Linked DNA regions of Homo sapiens: all the other regions are linked to region 1. The links are contacts of gene promoters, found by promoter capture Hi-C in blood cells and fetal thymus (Javierre and others, 2016). All regions are on one chromosome and are shown on one strand. The core of a region is centred on a gene start or on the middle of the fragment in contact, and the rest is flanking DNA. Distances in the headings are between cores, read along the strand shown. Region 1 holds the start of PCDHB7 (protocadherin beta 7). Region 2 holds the start of PCDHGC5 (protocadherin gamma subfamily C, 5). Region 3 overlaps PCDHGA1 (protocadherin gamma subfamily A, 1). Region 4 overlaps PCDHA1 (protocadherin alpha 1). Region 5 overlaps PCDHGA1 (protocadherin gamma subfamily A, 1).

The links. Contacts are between HindIII fragments. The CHiCAGO score rates a contact against its expected background, and 5 or more counts as called.
Region 2: a contact is called between a fragment that was not itself captured here and the fragment with the promoter of PCDHB7 in region 1, in 5 of 17 cell types (non-activated CD4 T cells, naive CD4 T cells, naive CD8 T cells and 2 more). The highest score is 6.5, in non-activated CD4 T cells.
Region 3: a fragment that was not itself captured here is called in contact with the fragment with the promoter of PCDHB7 in region 1 in 1 of 17 cell types (erythroblasts); the score reaches 6.8 in erythroblasts.
Region 4: a contact is called between a fragment that was not itself captured here and the fragment with the promoter of PCDHB7 in region 1, in 4 of 17 cell types (monocytes, M1 macrophages, M0 macrophages and 1 more). The highest score is 8.1, in monocytes.
Region 5: a fragment that was not itself captured here is called in contact with the fragment with the promoter of PCDHB7 in region 1 in 3 of 17 cell types (erythroblasts, fetal thymus and total CD4 T cells); the score reaches 6.1 in erythroblasts.

The regions. Positions count from the first base shown.
Region 1 is chr5:141,171,378-141,173,899 of GRCh38, forward strand. It overlaps PCDHB7 (protocadherin beta 7), which reads left to right and starts at 1,267. Exons shown (of 1, transcript NM_018940.4): 1 at 1,267-2,522. The coding sequence starts at 1,459. It also overlaps PCDHB@. The HindIII fragment of the contact is 10,030 bases long and covers 1-2,522 here.
Region 2 is chr5:141,487,544-141,490,065 of GRCh38, forward strand. The region is part of intron 1 of PCDHGA1 (protocadherin gamma subfamily A, 1); the gene reads left to right. The region is part of intron 1 of PCDHGA2 (protocadherin gamma subfamily A, 2); the gene reads left to right. All of the region lies in intron 1 of PCDHGA3 (protocadherin gamma subfamily A, 3), which reads left to right. All of the region lies in intron 1 of PCDHGB1 (protocadherin gamma subfamily B, 1), which reads left to right. It also overlaps PCDHGA4, PCDHGB2, PCDHGA5, PCDHGB3, PCDHGA6 and PCDHGA7, and 13 more genes. The HindIII fragment of the contact is 152 bases long and covers 1,182-1,333 here.
Region 3 is chr5:141,462,952-141,465,473 of GRCh38, forward strand. The region is part of intron 1 of PCDHGA1 (protocadherin gamma subfamily A, 1); the gene reads left to right. The region is part of intron 1 of PCDHGA2 (protocadherin gamma subfamily A, 2); the gene reads left to right. All of the region lies in intron 1 of PCDHGA3 (protocadherin gamma subfamily A, 3), which reads left to right. All of the region lies in intron 1 of PCDHGB1 (protocadherin gamma subfamily B, 1), which reads left to right. It also overlaps PCDHGA4, PCDHGB2, PCDHGA5, PCDHGB3, PCDHGA6 and PCDHGA7, and 10 more genes. Among named protein-coding and RNA genes, the nearest start is that of PCDHGC3, 12 kb to the right of the region's middle. The HindIII fragment of the contact is 817 bases long and covers 852-1,668 here.
Region 4 is chr5:140,886,069-140,888,590 of GRCh38, forward strand. The region is part of intron 1 of PCDHA1 (protocadherin alpha 1); the gene reads left to right. The region is part of intron 1 of PCDHA2 (protocadherin alpha 2); the gene reads left to right. The region is part of intron 1 of PCDHA3 (protocadherin alpha 3); the gene reads left to right. The region is part of intron 1 of PCDHA4 (protocadherin alpha 4); the gene reads left to right. It also overlaps PCDHA5, PCDHA6, PCDHA7, PCDHA8, PCDHA9 and PCDHA10, and 4 more genes. Among named protein-coding and RNA genes, the nearest start is that of PCDHA13, 5.2 kb to the left of the region's middle. The HindIII fragment of the contact is 5,330 bases long and covers 1-2,522 here.
Region 5 is chr5:141,442,378-141,444,899 of GRCh38, forward strand. All of the region lies in intron 1 of PCDHGA1 (protocadherin gamma subfamily A, 1), which reads left to right. All of the region lies in intron 1 of PCDHGA2 (protocadherin gamma subfamily A, 2), which reads left to right. All of the region lies in intron 1 of PCDHGA3 (protocadherin gamma subfamily A, 3), which reads left to right. The region is part of intron 1 of PCDHGB1 (protocadherin gamma subfamily B, 1); the gene reads left to right. It also overlaps PCDHGA4, PCDHGB2, PCDHGA5, PCDHGB3, PCDHGA6 and PCDHGA7, and 11 more genes. Among named protein-coding and RNA genes, the nearest start is that of PCDHGA12, 13 kb to the left of the region's middle. RefSeq lists an enhancer at 1-49. The HindIII fragment of the contact is 218 bases long and covers 1,156-1,373 here.

The sequences.
Region 1 (2,522 bases), core at 17-2,516:
ATGATTTTCAAAATAAAATGCAAGTTACTTAAAAATACAAAACCTGAACAGATTAATAACCAAAGGTAAAATGTAAATGGTAGTCACTGATCTACTGCAAGTGAAGTCACCAAACCCAACCAGTTTAAAAGACAAGCTGGAATTAAGCATGTAGAAACATATAATAATATAATTATTAAAACTATTGTATAAAATAGATAAAAAGCTCCCTAACACATTCTATGATGCCAGTATAATAGTTTAATACCAAGGCCATAAAAGGCAAACACGCACTAGGTAAACAACATTAACTAGAAAAATCCTAAAACCATGTTGACACATCATATCTATCTGTGCACTAAAACAATAATACATTATGGTTAAATGTCATTTATATCAATAACTCAGTAATTTAGAAACTAAAGAATAAATGTATTATTTCAACAGCTATCAAAAATCACTTCAAAATATGAAAGAATAAAAAGAAAACTTTATTGATTCAAAAAAGGAATATTTACCCCAAATTGAGATCAACCATCATAGTTGAAGATGAAATGCTAGAAGCACTTCCACAAATGCAAGATTGACCAACTTGCTACTACTAATTTTAAGAGTATTCATTGGACATTGGAGATTCTAGTCACTGAAATTATAGAGGAACAATAATTTCTTATGTAATACTTAAATCAGGTGAAGGATGAAGGTTGGGTTTGGGGGAGGCATAAAGTGTTCCAAGAAATATCACAGGTAAAGAGTTAAGACCTGGAAAGTGGAATAATTGTTTAATTCACAAGAAATTGGGAAAAGGGTCAATTATTCTGCCATATTCACATTATTATTGTTAAATACTTTACAAATAAATAAAATGTCCCCAACCAATATTTGTTGACTTCAAGGAGGAGGTTTCATTTTCTCATATATATTTTTACTATCCATTTTTAAAATAGGAGATTTTCTTAGGATTTCGGTGGGGAGTCAGAGTTTAGTTTCATGCTCCTAGATTTAAGAAGACTATAAATTAATTCTTCTACGAATCCAGATTATCACAGGGGAAAACGACATCAGCTATTACTTACTAGCATTACTGTGACCATTTGAGGATAAAGATGGAATGAAACAGCAAAGATACCGGGGACAAATCATTCTTGTTGCAGAATTCCTTCAATCCGCCATCTTTTTGTTCTAGTCTTGATAACGGGAATAACATCCACAAAACGCAAGGTGGCGCTGCTGGCTAAAAAGAGAGAGAGAAAAATAATTTCACAAAGAAAGGATGTTACAGATTCCAGAGCAAAGAGGCAATCTGAAGAGAAAAGCATAGGAAAGGAAACAGTGGTAATAGGAATTGGGGTAAAATGAGGATCCTTCCCCACAAACATTGCTATTATTCAGCTCATTTCAAAGGATTCCGCTGCTGCCATTTGTGAGAGCCGCTGGAGGCTGAGTGAAAGTCATTTTGAAAGACTGATCCAAAGAAGAATGGAGGCCAGAGTGGAGCGTGCTGTGCAGAAAAGGCAAGTCTTATTTCTTTGTGTATTTCTGGGAATGTCTTGGGCTGGCGCCGAACCGCTTCGGTATTTTGTGGCGGAGGAAACCGAGAGAGGCACCTTTCTTACCAACTTGGCAAAAGACCTAGGGTTAGGGGTAGGGGAACTGAGAGCCCGGGGAACTAGAATTGTTTCAGACCAGAACATGCAAATTTTACTGCTCAGTTCGCTTACTGGTGATCTACTTCTAAATGAGAAATTGGACCGAGAGGAACTGTGTGGCCCCAGAGAGCCCTGTGTGCTGCCTTTCCAGTTGTTATTGGAAAAACCTTTTCAGATTTTCCGTGCTGAACTATGGGTCAGAGACATCAATGATCACGCTCCAGTATTTCTAGACAGAGAGATTTCCTTGAAAATATTAGAAAGTACCACTCCAGGGGCGGCATTTCTCCTAGAGAGTGCACAGGATTCAGATGTTGGAACCAACAGCCTGAGTAACTACACCATCAGCCCCAATGCCTATTTCCATATTAATGTCCATGATAGCGGGGAGGGGAATATCTATCCCGAATTGGTGCTGAATCAAGTGCTGGATCGGGAAGAGATACCAGAGTTCAGTTTAACCCTCACCGCTTTAGACGGCGGCTCTCCTCCAAGATCAGGGACCGCCCTCGTGCGCATTCTGGTTCTAGACGTAAATGACAACGCCCCTGATTTTGTGCGGTCGCTCTACAAGGTGCAGGTGCCCGAAAATAGCCCCGTTGGTTCCATGGTTGTCTCCGTGTCAGCCAGAGATTTAGATACCGGAAGTAATGGGGAAATAGCCTATGCATTTTCTTACGCCACTGAAAGAATTCTCAAAACGTTTCAAATCAATCCAACATCTGGCAGTCTTCATCTTAAAGCGCAATTGGACTATGAGGCAATTCAAACTTACACATTAACTATTCAGGCCAAAGACGGCGGCGGGCTTTCTGGAAAATGCACTGTAGTGGTTGATGTAACAGATATAAACGATAATCGACCCGAGCTGCTCCTGTCTTCACTTACTAGCCC
Region 2 (2,522 bases), core at 8-2,507, 320 kb after region 1:
CCCAGTGCACCTATGGCAGGGGAGCCTGTTCGCCCAAGCTGCCCACCCTCTGATCTTCTCTATGGGCTAGAGGTGAGACCTTTGCAGGCTCAACAAATGCTTGAGGGTTATTCTGATCCAGGCATATGGCTAGGCCATGTCCTAGAGAGTACTGGCCTCTCAGTAAGTGCCCATAGTGATGTCACCATTTTTGTAAGAGGTAACTATGTGGTAGACGCTGTGCTTTGTAACTGTTTCGTGAATTAACCAGAGTTGTCACAGTTTAGCATTGGGGGCGGGTCATGCCTATATCTGAGTAAGAAATGAAAGTAATTGGTGATCAAGAGCCAGGCTGTTGTGGAAGCATGATGATGGAATGTGGGAGCACAGGAGGCTACAGTGCACAGGGTACAGTGCACCAGGCAGTCACTTGGACAAAGGTGGCTGTTTTCTCTACTCTTCCTGAAAGAGGGGATCAGATTCTGAAGTACCTTAACTCTAGGTTACCATTTCCCAAGGGATTGAGGGGAAATAAAATCTTTGTCTCCCAGTATCTAGTACACTGTGAAGGGACCTCTCTATTTGAAACATAGAGACAGCAGAAAGAGGAGAGAACTAAAGGAATAGAGAGGCACGCATCAGAGTGGTGGCATAGATCTTTTGGTCTGGGTCTTAGGACTCATATCAAGTCCCTACTGGGGATTTGAACTAGATGCGGTAAATTGGAAGGTTGGGGCGGGTTGGTCATCACCTTTGGAAAAAACAGTAAGTGAAATCACTTATGTCAGAAAACTGGTTTACAGTTGGCTGATTCATAGAAACAGCCACCCTGTGCATCTTTAAGTTGAGTTCTCCTGAATTTGGTGAAACCATGAAACCTAGAAGCCAAGCCATCCATGCTTGGCCTCTGACCACCCTCCTGGGTGACCTGATTCAGCCCCAGAAATGTTCCCCTACCCAAAAACTGTAACACTCATTCCACATTTGGGGTCTGGGGTGTCAGAAAAGCTAAGTCCCATGTCAGCTGACATTGAGATTTCCGCAAAGCATTGCTGGAGAGTCAGGGCAAGACTTTACAAGGTTCTTACTAATCTTTTCTCTCACCTTAGCAGCATTCAGCAGGATGGGGGAGGGTGGGGGAATACATGGGCTTTGCCTCTCCCAGAAGGACAAGATTTTGCTGGTTCAAGCAAAGTGGTGGAAGCTTCTGAAGTCATGCAGGAAGTTGCTGGGACAGAACGCTGAGGAGTTTTGTATCACTTTGTCTTCCCTGTTGAGTACCATCTGAGCTGTCAAACTTTGCTGCCAAGGGGGCTGAATCAACCTGCAGCACGAAGTGAGTGGGGAGGTAGGAAGCTTCTGTGACACAGATTTGCAGCCTGTGTTCCCAAGGTTTCCAGGATTGAGGAAACTCCATAATTGGTTGAGAGCACACAGACTTTTTGGCCAATCAGACTCAGAGCTGAGGTGGGAGATCTGCTCTTCCAGCCCGCCTCTCCTCCTCCAGCTCCCCAGCTCCACTCAAATTCAGCTCCCCTCCCCCCTGCCCACCCCCGCCACTCGGTGACTAAGAACTGCTGCAAGCAGGCAAACCTCCGAGCAGTTTTTAAGAGGCTGGAAGGAGACATAAGAGACTTCAGCTGCTGCATTCCAAGCCCTGGGTCTACCTTGGAGACAGGACAGCACAGACTTACTCTCCACAAAGGGACTTCTGGGTCATGGGGCCCAAGACACTCCCACAGCTCGCTGGGAAATGGCAAGTGCTGTGCATGTTGTCCTTGTGCTGCTGGGGCTGGGTGTCTGGGCAGCTTCGTTACTCAGTGGTGGAGGAGTCTGAGCCGGGGACGCTGGTGGGGAATGTTGCTCAGGATCTGGGCTTAAAGATGACAGATCTGTTGAGCCGGCGGCTGCAATTGGGCTCTGAGGAGAATGGGCGCTATTTTTCCCTGAGCTTGATGAGTGGTGCCCTGGCAGTGAATCAAAAGATTGACCGAGAAAGCCTATGTGGAGCCAGCACCAGCTGCCTGCTGCCAGTGCAGGTGGTGACTGAACACCCCCTGGAGCTAATCCGTGTAGAGGTAGAGATCCTGGATCTCAATGACAACTCTCCTAGCTTTGCCACCCCTGAGCGAGAGATGCGCATCTCAGAATCAGCAGCATCTGGGGCACGATTCCCACTGGACAGTGCCCAGGATCCGGATGTGGGCACCAATACTGTGAGCTTTTACACTCTAAGCCCCAACAGCCACTTCTCTCTGAATGTGAAGACCCTAAAAGATGGGAAGCCATTCCCAGAGCTGGTGCTAGAGCAGCAGCTGGATCGTGAAGCCCAGGCAAGACATCAGCTGGTGCTTACTGCTGTGGATGGGGGGACCCCAGCCCGCTCAGGGACCACCCTTATCTCTGTCATCGTGCTGGACATCAATGATAATGCTCCAACCTTCCAATCCTCAGTTCTACGTGTGGGAATCCCAGAGAATGCACCCATTGGTACTCTGCTGCTCCGCCTCAATGCCACTGATCCAGACGAGGGCACCAACGGC
Region 3 (2,522 bases), core at 10-2,509, 290 kb after region 1:
TTGTTAGGACAGGTCTGTAGTAACTTTTGCCTTGGGCTAATTTAGACCTACCACTTAATTCTGACTTTTTTGATTAATCTGAGTGTTCAGCAGGGTCTCTTTATTATGGCTAAATGAAATTCAAACATTTTCCAGCCCTATGTGACCATCAAGAATTCAGCTAATAGCTCCCTGGCAGTTCTTCGCCCAGCTGCAGAAAAGTGTCAGTGCACTCTATGTATGCTCAGATTATTATTTAGCCAAAGACTTGGGGATCCATATTAATATTCCTGGAGTTCTTTGTGTAGCTCCATTCTCTTTAGTACTCTATCCCATAAATTCTGGCTGCCTCAATCTCCTAATCTCCCCAAACTCTAATATCTATTCCTCAACTCAGCAAAACCATGGTGTTATTCTTGGATTTCCCCTTTCCTGCCCCACAGTCTGAAAGTTGTCTCCAGGCAAAAAAAATGGAGATCCTAGTTTGCGGATCCTCATTTCCTTCTCCTTTTTTTTTTTTTTTTTTTTTTTTTTTTGAGATGGAGTCTCGCTCTGTCACCCAGGCTGGAGTGACGTGGCGTGATCTCGGCTTACTAGAAACTCCGGCTCCCGGGTTCATGCCATTCTCCTGCCTCAGCCTCCCGAGTAGCTGGGACTACAGGTGCCTGCCACCATGCCCGGCTAATTTTTTGTATTTTGTTTAGTAGAGACGGGGTTTCACCGTGTTAGCCAGGATGGTCTGGATGACCTCGTGATCTGCTCACCTCGGCCTCCAAAAGTGCTGGGATTACAGGCATGAGCCACCGCGCCCGGCCTGCTTCTCTTCTCTTATGGGTTAGAATCCTGCACTGTCTTTTGAACAAATGTCTAAAAGCTTTTATCACACATTTTGATCCACTTCCCAGTTGTTATAGTGGTATATCTGGTTTCACATGACTGAAAGGAAAAGTTTTCACCTTGCTTTTTGTACTAATAATATATCCTGGAAATCATTCTATATAAATTTATAGAAATCTTCATTTTTAAAATAGCTTCATAAAACTCCATTGTAAAAACCAGGTGCAGTGGCTCATGCTTGTAATCCCACACTTTGGGAGGCCAAGGCGGGTGGATCACCTGAGGTCAGGAGTTCAAGGCCAGCCTGGCCAACATGGTGAAACTCCGTCTCTACTAAAAATACAAAAATTAGCTGGGTGTGGTGGTGGGCGCCTGTAGTCCCAGCTACTTGGAAGGCTGAGGCAGGAGAATTGCTTGATTTCAGGAGGCGGAGATTGCAGTGAGCTGAGATTGCGCCACTGCACTCCAGCCTGGGCTACAGAGCGAGACTCCGTCTAAAAAAAAAAAAAAGCAAAAAAAAAAACTCCATTGTATGTGCACATATCATTATCTGTTCAACCCATCTATGACTTGTCATTTAGGTAGTTTCCATCCAATATTTTTGCAATATAAAAAATGCTAATGAAGAACCTGAGATATATATATATCTATATATATAGATATATATGTTTGTTGTTGTTGTTGTTATTTTTGAAGTATGTACGTATAATAAATTCCTAATAGTGTGATTGCTGCATCATAAGGTAAAGGCATATGTAGTTTTGTTAAATATAGCTATTCCCCATCTTGCATTCCTACAAATAGATGAGAATGTCCATTGTCCCATAGTCTCCTTTGCAGAGTATATTGTCAAGCTTTTTAATTGTTGCCAACCTGATGGGTAAAAAGATATCTCCAAATAATTTTAATTAAAATTTCTCTTATTATGAATGAGGTTAAATAGTTTTTCATATGTTTAAAAGCCAGTTTATATCTTTTTGTTTTTTTAGAGACAGGAATCTTGTTCTGTTGCCCAGGCCAAATTGCAGTGATGCAGTCATAGCTCACTGTAGCCTCGCACTCCTGGGCTCAAGCAATCCTCCTACCTTAGCCTCCCAAGTAGCTAGGACTACAGATGGATGCCACCATGTCCAGCTAATTTTTTTATTTTTTTGTAGAGATGTGAGGTCTCACTATGTTGCCCAGGCTTGTCTTGAACTACTGGCTTCAAGTGATCCTCCCACCTCAGCCTCCCAAAGTGCTAAGATTACAGCCATGAACCACCACAAATGACCCTATATATTTTTTTGAATTGTCTGTTCATGTCTTATTTTCATTTTTCTAGTAGTTTTTTTTTTAAGTGTTTTAGCCTAAATTTGTAAAAAGTTTAGGGGATATATGAAGGGACTCTAAATGTTTATGAAGAAATTTAATTAAAAGATAAAAATAAAAATATAAGCTTTATTTTTCAACATGAGCTCCATCAAGTTCAAGGCACTTTTGTAAGCAATGATACTAGCCATTTAGTTCACCCCTAAAGAACTGAGAGTCCTGGGAATTTAGCCATGTCAATGCAGTATTTTTTATATTGGTTACTGAAGAAAAAATGGGTGCCCTTTAAAGTTGTAAGATTAGGAACAAAAACAAGTCAGAAGAAGCCAAATCAGCACTGAAAGGTGGGCACTTAATGATTACCCAAGAAAACTCTCACCAAATTGCCCTTGCTT
Region 4 (2,522 bases), core at 13-2,512, 290 kb before region 1:
CCATACCACAACCTGGATATTGACATTGATACAGTAAAGAAGTAACATAGTTCCGTAACAACCAGATTCTTGATATCACCTTTTTATAGCCACATCTGCTTCCCTGCCTAATGCTGGCAAGCAGTAATCTGTTCTCCATTTCTCTAATTTTGTTACTTTTACTTCAGAAATAAATAAAAGTATCTCTATTTATAGATAAAATTTTTTAAAATTATTTTTATATTTATTTATTTTTTATTACACTTTAAGTTCTGGGATACATGTGCAGAACGTGCAGGTTTGTTACATAGGTGTACATGCCATGGTGTGCTTATCTATTATCTGCATCACAAATATGTTTTCCTCCTATATTATTTCTATTCATTTGTTTGTACTAATTTTGTCATATATAAATGTTTTTAAAATGTATGAATTAAAATATATCTTTTTCCTTTTATGGATTTTAAGGTCTGCATATTCAGTTAGAAAGGTCTTCCCAGCTGGGCACGGTGGCTCACGCCTGTAATCCCAGCACTTTGGGAGGCCAAGGTGGGCGGATCAGGAGATCAGGAGTCCGAGACCAGCCTGGCCAACATGGTGAAACCCTGTCTCTACTAAAAATACAAAAATTAGCGAGGCATGGTGGCACGCGCCTGTAATCCCAGCTACTTGGGAGGCTGAAGCAAGAGAATTGCTTGAACCCGGGAGGTGGAGGTTGCAGTGAGATGAGATCATGCTACTGTACTCCAGCTCTGGGTGACAGAGCAAGACTTCGTCTTGAAAAAAAAAAAAAAAAAAAAGAAAGGTCTTCCCAACTCCTATATTGAACATTCATTAATTAAATGCATTTAATAAATACTTATTGAGTGTTCTCTATGTGCCAGGCATGTTCTACACATTAGACATTTAGCAACGAAATTTATTATTTTGTAAATCCAAATTTCCAGTTGGTATCACTTTCCTACTGCCTGAAAAATTTCTTTAATATTTTTTATAGTGCATATGTTCTGGCAACAAATTCACTCAGCTTTTGTCTGAGAAATATCTTTATCTCTTTTTTTTTTTTTGAGACGGAGTCTCACTCTGTCGCCCAGGCTGGAGTACAGTGGCGTGATCTCGGCTCACTGCAAGCTCCACCTCCCGGGTTCACGCCATTCTCCTGCCTCAGCCTCCCGAGTAGCTGAGACTACCGGCGCCCGCCACCACGCCCTGCTAATTTTTTGTATTTTTAGTAGAGATGGGGTTTCATCTTGTTAGCCAGGATAGTCTCGAACTCCTGACCTCGTGATCCACCTGGCTCGGCCTCCCAAAGTGCTGGGATTACAGGTGTGAGCCACCGCGCCCGGCTCTTTATCTCATTTTTATTTTTGAAAAAGTATTTTCACTGGGCATAGTTGACAGTTTTTTAAAAGATATAATTCAGTTGTCTTCTGGCTTGCATAGTTTCTAATAAGATGTTTGCTTTTTTATATATGAGTCTTCCTCTCCCCACCCCTCATGGTTACTGTTAAAACTTTTCTTTTTATCCTGACTTTTGCAGATTGATTGTGATGTGCTTTAGTATGGTTTTCTTTATGTTAGTCTGTTGGGGTTTGTTGATATTCTTGGATCTGTGGATTTATCATTTTCATCAAATTCAGGAAAAAATCAACCATACTTCTTCTAATAGTTTTTTCTTTCCTTCCATCCTTTCTGAGACTCCAGTAACACATATGTTACAATGACACAGGTCATTGAAGCGTTCTTTATTTTTGTCCATTTCTTTCTCTGTGCCTCATTTTGAATATCTTTTATTGACATATTTTCCAAGTTCACTAATTTTTCCTTTTGTAGTATCATATCTGTTAATCCTAAACAGTGTATTCTTCATTTCAGAGACCATATTTATTTCTTATCTGTATAAGATTCTTTTTGTCTCTTTTAAAATTTATTTTACATGTCTCCACCGAATAGTCATCTTTTTATCTATATGTTTGAGCATATTAGTACATGTATAATAGATGTTTTAACTTTCTTGTCTGCTAATTTCAACATTTTTGTCCTTAGTTTGCTTCTTTTAATCTATCTTCTTCTATGGATATATTTTCTTGCTGTTTTGCATGACTGGTAATCTCTAATAAGATGCTAGACATTGTGAATTTTACATTGTCGGATGCTGGATTTTGTGTGTGTGTGCATGTGTGTGCGTGTTCCTTTAAAGCAGTAGTTCTTGATAAGAAACAGTTTTGTCCCCTCTACCCCCTACCCAGGAGATAATTTGGCAATGCCTGGATACATTTTTGGTTATTACAACTAGGGAATTGCTACTGGCATCTAATAATGGAGCTCTGAGATGCTGCTAAACACCATCCAATTGCTGCCAAACATCCTACCGTGCACAGGACAGCCGCCCAACAATAAAGAATTAGCTCAAAATGTCAGTAGTTCCACTGTTGAGAAACTCTGCTTTAAAGAGTCTTGGACTTAGTTCTGACGTGAAGTTAAGTTGCTCAGTACCAATTTATTCCTTTCAAGGCTTCATTTTAAGATTTGTTAGTACACAT
Region 5 (2,522 bases), core at 15-2,514, 270 kb after region 1:
GGTGTGTGCTTCTCCTACGAATCCAGGGCTGAGTGAACTTCTTTTTTGAATCCCTACCCCTCAGGACTCAATAGCAGTTTCACTGCAGAAAGCCCCTTGGGGAAGGGGATGATTGTGATTATTCTAATTGCTTGGGCAGAATCCACTCTCCAAGGTGAAAAATTCTTGATGAAACTAAGTTCAGTCACAAGCAGGTTTTCTTCTAGCATTAAATATTTTCAGAGATCTCAGTAAAAAGCATTTCTAGCAGCAAGACCAAAGGCCTAAGATGAGAAATATTTGGCATGGTGAGCTTGAGGGACAGTAGTCAGGCAGACAAGAGTATCAGACATGCCAGAGCATTTGGGGCCTGTAGGTAAGGAGCATGTTTTGATTATATATATTTGTATGTGTTTGATTATATTTTATAATTTTACTTTGATATTCAAATTGTACTGATCCAAAAATAAGGGAGGGACAAATCTTGGCCATTGTAGTATGAGAGATGTAAATTTACAACTCAGAATCCCTGCTTATCACTTCTCCTTCAGCACACAACTGTTTCATTTTCTATTTAAGAAACTTCCTCTCACTGCAAAAAGACATTCTGGCTGATAAAGTTAGCCTATAATTTCAGTAAATCTAAGAATATGACTAATGGAAGTTGCCAGACCTAAACTTTGAAAATTATTGTTCCACTGAAGAGCGTCTTATGACTGAGTGTTCCAGTCTCCTTCTCAAGCTGAACCTTGCTTTTCAAACCAGATTAAGAACACTATCATAAGTTATACTGCATTTTATTTCCCTACCCATGTCCACTGCATCATTCTCTATAGTACAAAGAGCTTGTCTCGCCAGGCGCATCTATAATCTTAGCACTTTGGGGCGCCAAGGCGGGTGGATCACTTGAGCCCAGGAGTTTGAGACCAGCCTGGACAGCATGGCAAAAACCCATCTCTACAAAAAAAAAAAACAAAAATTAACAAGGTTTAGTGGTCCATGCCTGTGGTCTCAGCTACTTGGGAGGCTGAGGTGTGAGGATCACCTGAGTCTGGGGAGATTGAAGCTGCAGTGAGCTGTGGTTGCGCTCCTGTACTCCAGTCTGGGTGACAGAATTAGACCCTGTCCCAAAACAAACAAACAAATAAAGAGCTTCTCTCCTTATGACTTATTTAAAGCTTGGGAAATTGTTCCAATTCAAATGCTTTAAATGGACTTGAGCTAAAACAGAATGTGGTATATGAAATGTTCTTATAATCAGGTGATTGTAAAAATTGATCCAGATAATGTTAGCATAGCATTTTACTGAACTAGTAGTTTACAAACACTTCAAAAATTATAGAATAACATTTGCATATAAAATTCCTCATACATTTCCCTATCAGTGAATTGGAAGCTTACAATATACAATATTACCAAAAAGACAAAAAAAATGAAAAGGAAACAGTTACCTTTGGAAAACATAATTAGGTAAAATGGGTAATATGGAAAGTCTGAAAACTGAAAAAATTACTGATAAGTCAAGAGAAAAGGAATATTAGTAGGAAAATTCATAAAAGTGTGTCTGACTACTCACAGCAGGTTTCCTTATTGGTATGTATTCTGTGGTCCATCTAAGCTATGTTAATTTTATTTTAAATGCTACCTGGGTATTGGCTTCTAAAAGGAATTCAGTAAATCAGATAATTTGGCATCTTCAATCTAGATTCTGATGCTCACCTGAAAAGTCTGCTAAGGATTGGAAACCAAGAAAAGTGAAGTATCTCAACAGATATGTGTCACTTGTGTGTACTGGATTTTTTTTTTTTTTTTTTTTTTTTTTTTTTTTTTTTGAGATGGAGTTTCACTCTTGTTGCCCAGGCTGGAGTGCAATGGCATGCTCTCGGCTCACTGCAACCTCCGCCTCCCAGGTTCAAGTGATTCTCCTGCCTCAGCCTCCCTAGTAGCTAGGATTACAGGCATGTGCCACCACGCCCAGCTAATTTTGTATTTTTAGTAGAGACGGGGTTTCTCCATGTTGGTCAGGCTAGTCTTGAACTCCCAACCTCAGGTGATCTTCCCTCCTTGGCCTCCCAAAGTGCTGGGATTACAGGCATGAGTCACTGCGCCCGGTCGCGTACTGGATTTATATTGTGTAATACTTTGCTCTAGCAGTATAGTAGGTGAGACAGTGACTGTGTCTAGTGAGCAAAAGGCACTTATTTGACACTTTTGACTCTTCCTTTCTACTTACCTTATTTAAAATTGATTTTTGCATGTGGCATGATGCACCAGTTCATTGAGGTAGGGGTTGAAGTTATTTCCCATTTTTTTCAATACCATTTATTAAAAATATTTTCCTCTTTCTGTTGAATTTGCTTGGTGCCTTTGTTGAAAGTCATTTCACTGATATATGTAGTTCTATTTCTATATTCTTGATCATGTTTCATTTGTCTATTCTTTTACTAATAGCACACTGTCTCAATTATTGTAGCTTTATAGTAAGTCTTGCTACAAAGTCTTACTACAGGACAAAGCTTGTAGGATTTTTGAATGGGATGGCA